Regions from separate parts of the Homo sapiens genome. Here region 1 is linked to region 2. The links are contacts of gene promoters, found by promoter capture Hi-C in blood cells and fetal thymus (Javierre and others, 2016). All regions are on one chromosome and are shown on one strand. The core of a region is centred on a gene start or on the middle of the fragment in contact, and the rest is flanking DNA. Distances in the headings are between cores, read along the strand shown.

What was found. The method cuts DNA at HindIII sites, captures the fragments that hold promoters and counts their contacts. A CHiCAGO score of 5 or more calls a contact.
Region 1: a fragment that was not itself captured here is called in contact with the fragment with the promoter of THBS4-AS1 in region 2 in 1 of 17 cell types (endothelial precursors); the score reaches 5.5 in endothelial precursors.

The regions. Positions count from the first base shown.
Region 1 is chr5:79,012,742-79,015,474 of GRCh38, reverse strand. The region is part of intron 14 of DMGDH (dimethylglycine dehydrogenase); the gene reads left to right. Among named protein-coding and RNA genes, the nearest start is that of ARSB, 29 kb to the right of the region's middle. The HindIII fragment of the contact is 2,899 bases long and covers 1-2,718 here.
Region 2 is chr5:80,082,276-80,084,975 of GRCh38, reverse strand. THBS4-AS1 (THBS4 antisense RNA 1) reads left to right here and starts at 1,311. Exons shown (of 8, transcript NR_109930.1): 1 at 1,311-1,476; 2 at 2,439-2,616. It overlaps THBS4 (thrombospondin 4), which reads right to left. Exons shown (of 22, transcript NM_003248.6): 21 at 2,431-2,570; 22 at 1,689-1,896. The coding sequence ends at 1,835. RefSeq lists silencers at 583-797, 1,913-2,002. The HindIII fragment of the contact is 5,954 bases long and covers 1,295-2,700 here.

The DNA of each region.
Region 1 (2,733 bases), core at 20-2,519, 1.1 Mb after region 2:
AAGGAATTTGGAGTGTATCCTGGAGAACCTGGGGAGTGACCCAAGAATTTTGAGTAAGGAGTGACACTCTAGTGATGGGAAACAGATTAAAAGTGAGTTCGTCTGATGACTGGGAGATCATTCTCCTAATTATCAAATAAATCCAGTGGAGAGAAGGCGAAGACTTCAACTAAAGCAGTGGCCATAGGATGGAGAAGAAAGAGCAATGAGTGCTATTTAGAAGGAAGGGTGGATACCACATGAGGGACTGCATGTGAAGGGGTGAGAGGAGGATGTTAATGAACTGTGGATTAACTAGGAAACACAGGTGGAGGGGTGTGGGTGGGAAATTGTCAGGACTTGGGTTGGAGGACTCTGGGGTAGCCAAGCAGAGAGTCCCAGAAGGCATCTGAGCATGTGGGTTTGGAGAGCTTAGCTCTGCAAGTATGGCTTTGGACCCTTCAGATATAGGTGGTCATTGAGGCAGGTGAGTGTTGAGAATCCGTTTTCTATAGCACTCTGCACTTGCCTCTGCCCTGGTACTGACCACGCCTTATATTCCTGACCACCTCCTCAACTTTGAGGACAGAGGCCAAGAATCCTTAGCCTCACCCCTGTGTCTGATCACTAGTGAGGGCTCTGTAAATATTTGTTGAAGGGTTTGAATTGTGACTCTGACATTTACTGATTCTGACTAGATGTATTGCTTAATCTATGAGCATTTCAGTTTTCTCATCTGTAAAATGAAGAAAATGTTCACTCCATAAATTTGTCATAAGTATTAGATGAGATAAAGAACATTTGGTACCTCACTAAGTGTTAGTTCCTTTCCATATTATTGATTTGAATCTAAATAAGTCATTTAGAGTAAAGGAACTATACATGAAATCCTTTTTCTTTTTTTAAGATCCCAGTAAGGAAGATCTTGGGTCCCTATTGAGGCCTCATTTCTTCATGCTTTTAAAATTTCCTTTGATTATTATTTACTTTGCATTTAGGCTTAAGTGCTATGCTTAAAATATCAAATGGGCAATTGTTCTTCACTCTACTCTAGAGAGATGAAATCTATTATGAAAACTCTATATTATAGTTGTTGGCCAAAGCAGTTAAACATAAATCTGATAAAGCCACAGGTCCATTTCACAGTTTTCCTTTGAATCATCAGATTAAAAAACCGAAAAATTAAGTGTTCTCTTTAACATCAAATCTAGTAAGATTTAATATTAAAGACATGTAATGGGGGCTTTAGTTTTGAAAATCTGGTTTGATTTGAACGCTAATTAGCCTGATTACTTGCCTGGCTTAGGAACTATATTTTAGTTATTTTCCCAGGTTTCTATTTTATCCCCCTTTTTTAGTGACTATGGTTCCTGTTCTAGTAATATTAAACATTTTTGAGAAGGAATTTTAACTGGTCAGTAATTTTGGTTAGAAAAATGCTATATGAGTGCTTTCTTTTAAATTGCTAAGGGCAGAGAATGAAAACTACCTGTGTGTGGGAGTGATATGATTTGGATCTGTGTCTGCACCAAATCTCATGCCAAATTGTAATCCCCATTGTTGGAGGTGGAGCCTGGTGGGAGGTGATTGGATCATGGGGGTGGTTTCTCATGAATGATTTAGCAACATCCCCTTTGGTACTGTCCTCACAATAGTGAGTGGGTTCTCATGAGATCTAGTTGTTTAAAAGTATGTAGCACCTCCCTCCTGTCTCTTGCTCCTGCTCCTGCCATGTAAGACATGCCAGCTCCCCCTTTGCCTTCTGCCATGATTGTAAGTTCCCTGAGACCTCCCCAGAAGCAAAGCAGATGCCCACATCTTGCTTCCTGTATAGTCTACAGAACTGTGAGCCAATTAAATCTATTTTCTTTATAAATTACCCAGTCTCAGGCATTTCTTTATAGCAGTGAGAGAACAAACTAATACATAAAAATGGTACAGAGGAGTGGGATATTGCTATAAAGATATCTGAAAATGTGGAAGCAGCTTTGGAACTGGGTAATGGGCAGAGGTTAGAAGGATGTGGAGGGCTCAGAAGAAGACAGGAAGATGAGAGAAGGTTTGAAACTCCCTAGAGATGTGTTGAATCGTTGTGACCTAAATGCTGATAATGATATGGACAGAGATGGCCAAGCTGAGGAGGTCTCAGATGGAAATGAAGAACTTATTGGGAATGGGAATAAAGGTCACTTTTGTTATGCATTAGCAAATAACATGGCTGCATTGTGCTCCTGCCCTAGGGATCTATGGATCTTAGAAACTGAGACTGATGATTTAGAGTATCTAGTGGAAGAAATTTCTAAGCAGCAAAGCATTCAAGATGTGGCCTGGCTACTTCTGACAGTCAATGCTCATGTGTGTGAACAAAGAAATGACCTGAAGTTGGAACTTATATTTAAAGGGGAAGCAGAGTGTAAAAGTTTGGAAAATGTGCAACCTGACCATGTAGTAGAAAAGAAAAGCCCATTTTCTGGGGAGGAATTCAAGCAGGCTGGAGACATTTGCATAAGTAAAAAGGAGCCAAGTGCTGATAACCAAAACACTGGGGAAAAAGGTCTTGAAGGCATTTCAGAGACCTTCACAACAATCCCTATCATCACAGCCCCAGAGGCCTAAGAGGAATGAATGTTTTGTGGGCCAGGCCCAAGGCCCCACTGCCTTGCATGGCATTGGGACACTGCTCCCTGCATCCCAGCTGCTCCAGCTCTAGCTGTGACTCAAATGAGCCCTAGTAAAGCTTGGGCTGCTGCTACA
Region 2 (2,700 bases), core at 62-2,561:
CCAGTTCTCTGGAGCCCTGATTTGTAGTGTTTGCCAGTTTCTGTGTAAATACTCCCACCATGGCCAATTTCAAACTACCAACCGTTTAACTGGCTCACAATATTCCTAAAACTTGAATAGTTGGCTCTTATGAGCTGGTAGGAGTTGGCTTCAGCACACTGCTGGTTCTACATGCGTCTTTGTTTCTTGTTTTGCATAAATAACAAGTTTTGTCTTCCCAAAAATGTAATAAGCTCCCTAAGGGATGGAATTATGTTCTGGATCTCCTGTGGGCCCATGGTTTCTAAAATAGTTATAGACACAAAAGATTTAACCAAGAGAGTCTGTTTCCTGTGGACATACTGCGTTCTTGGGCTTGCACAGCCGACAACAGGGAGGCTGCCCCAGGGGTGGGCATGGTGTGGGTTGCTGCCTCCTTTCACCAGCCTCACTCTCATTGCCCAGGCTGGAGTACAGTGGTGCAATCTCTGCTCACTGCAGCCTCTGCCTCCCCAGCTCAAGTGATTCTCCCACTTCAACCTCCCAAATAGCTGGGACTATAGGCAAGTGGCACCACACCTGGCTAATTTTTGTATTTTTAGTAGAGATGGGTTTCGCCACGTTGGCCAGGCTGGTCTTGAACTCCTGGCCTCAAGTGATCTGCCTGCCTTGGCCTCCCAAAGTGCTTGGGACCACAGGCAAGTGCCACCACACCTGGCCCCATTGGAGTTTTTGATGTAGGAGATCAGATGTCCTGGATTACAAGGCCACACACATCTCCAGGCTGTACATGAGAGGAGGATGTCCAGAAATCCTCCAGATCTCATGCATGCACCATTGTATTTTCTCACTGTTAAAGTCATGATAAAACTGTGGTGTTTTTTTCTTCATACATGATTTAATATATCTCTAGGAATTCTGGAATAAGAAAATATATAACCGCACAGCAATATTCTTTGAAACAAAATTTCTAGAGAATTTATAAAAATTTGCTTGGATCTTGATTTACAATTGAAATACAAGAAAGGCTAGTGTACAAATTAGGCAAGTTTCTGTGCTGTACATCCAGCTACTGGTACCACAAATAGAGGATATGTTGTGACTTTTTGAGTTGAGGAGGACTTTTATGATCATGTACACTCTACTGTCCTTTAAGAGGCATTCATTCATTCATTCTTCGTTTATTAATTCAGTAAACATTTACTGGCTATTTACTACATTCCAGGTACTGTGGGGATATTGATTGTAATGACATGATCCTTTATTGTCAATATGCTTACAGTCCACTAGGGGGAGCCAAATATATAAATAAGCTTAAGAATTACGTTGAAGGGGCCAGAATAGAAGTCTGTGGAAGGTGTGGGATGGGATGACAGCATCAGAAAGAATTGGGCAAATCTGTCCCAGGACTAGGTCAGAAAAACGCCTCCCTAGGGAAGGTGCCACCCCAAACACGTGTTTCTGAGACCCCTTACCCGAAATAAGGAGGCTGCCAAGGTGAGCATGGAACGGTTAGGCGTTTTGTATGGAGCAAACTGGGGGGACCCCAGCTGAGACCTCTGGCCTGGGCCTTGTGATTCACGCATAGGCTCATCTTATCGGCCACCGGGTCTGAGAAGAAACTACCACCCTGCAAGTTAACAGGGATCCCTCCGAGAACGGGCACCTCAAAGCCTGAGCCACGTGAGAGCAATGTCTGAGCAACACGGTTTTTAAAAATGATCTCTTCTCCTTTATTGCCACATTCACATAAAACGTTTTGATATATTTGGGTTGGTAAAAGCTAAAGAAAATTGAAGTTAAAATATATATGGTTTTAGTGTTCCGAAAAGCAGTTACAGATTGCTTCCTTGGTTTAATTATCGAAGCGGTCGAAATTCTGGGTTTGAAACTCTTGGAAGTCCTCAGGGATGGTGTCTGCAATAGGAATGGGCACAGGGAGGTTAGCGAGGCTCCTTCCACCCCGGACCCCGGACCCCCGCCCGCGGCTCAGGCGTCCTGTAGGGGGCGCTGTTAGCCCGCCCAGGACGCCCCGCAGGCCCTCGCCGCCATTTTCTCCTGCAGGCTGCTTTGCAAACCGTTGGCTTAAAGCCCAGGAGTGCTCCTTCCCGGCCGTGCAGAAAATCAGCAGGCAGAATGGATTTTGCATCTGTGATTATGTTTTAACCACATGAAAATAAAGGCTTCCTGTAAATTAAATCTGACTGGATTTCTCACTGAACCCCAAACCCTAAACCATGCAGTTAAATTCTATGGGTCTTAATTTCCACATGGATAAAATAGGATAAATGTGATCTGCTTTTTACTTCTGGTACACAGGGACTATCAGGTTTTAATGACTATGTGGTATGAGCGTTGGGCTTTTGGGGGGGAAGTGCGGTATAAAAATAAGGTGGCAGTGTTTGACTAATTCTAGTAACAATGTTGAACAGTAACGAGAATGCACATTACCATTGCAGCGATACTTGAGGTTGGACCAGATGATGTTTTCTTGAGAGAAGCAGAAAACGCCAAGTCGGCCTCCACGCATTGTGGTGTCTATGGTGACGCCAGAGTCAGCCACCAACTCAGAGCCTTCATAAAATCGTACCCTGCGGACAACACGGCCGGAGGGGCCTCCATGAAATCCAACCCGGGGTAAAGTGCCCACTGTGAGGCCCAGGGGCCCCACTTCTTATACGTACCTGCGTCTTTCTTTGCTCTGTTTTAGGCTCCATTTTT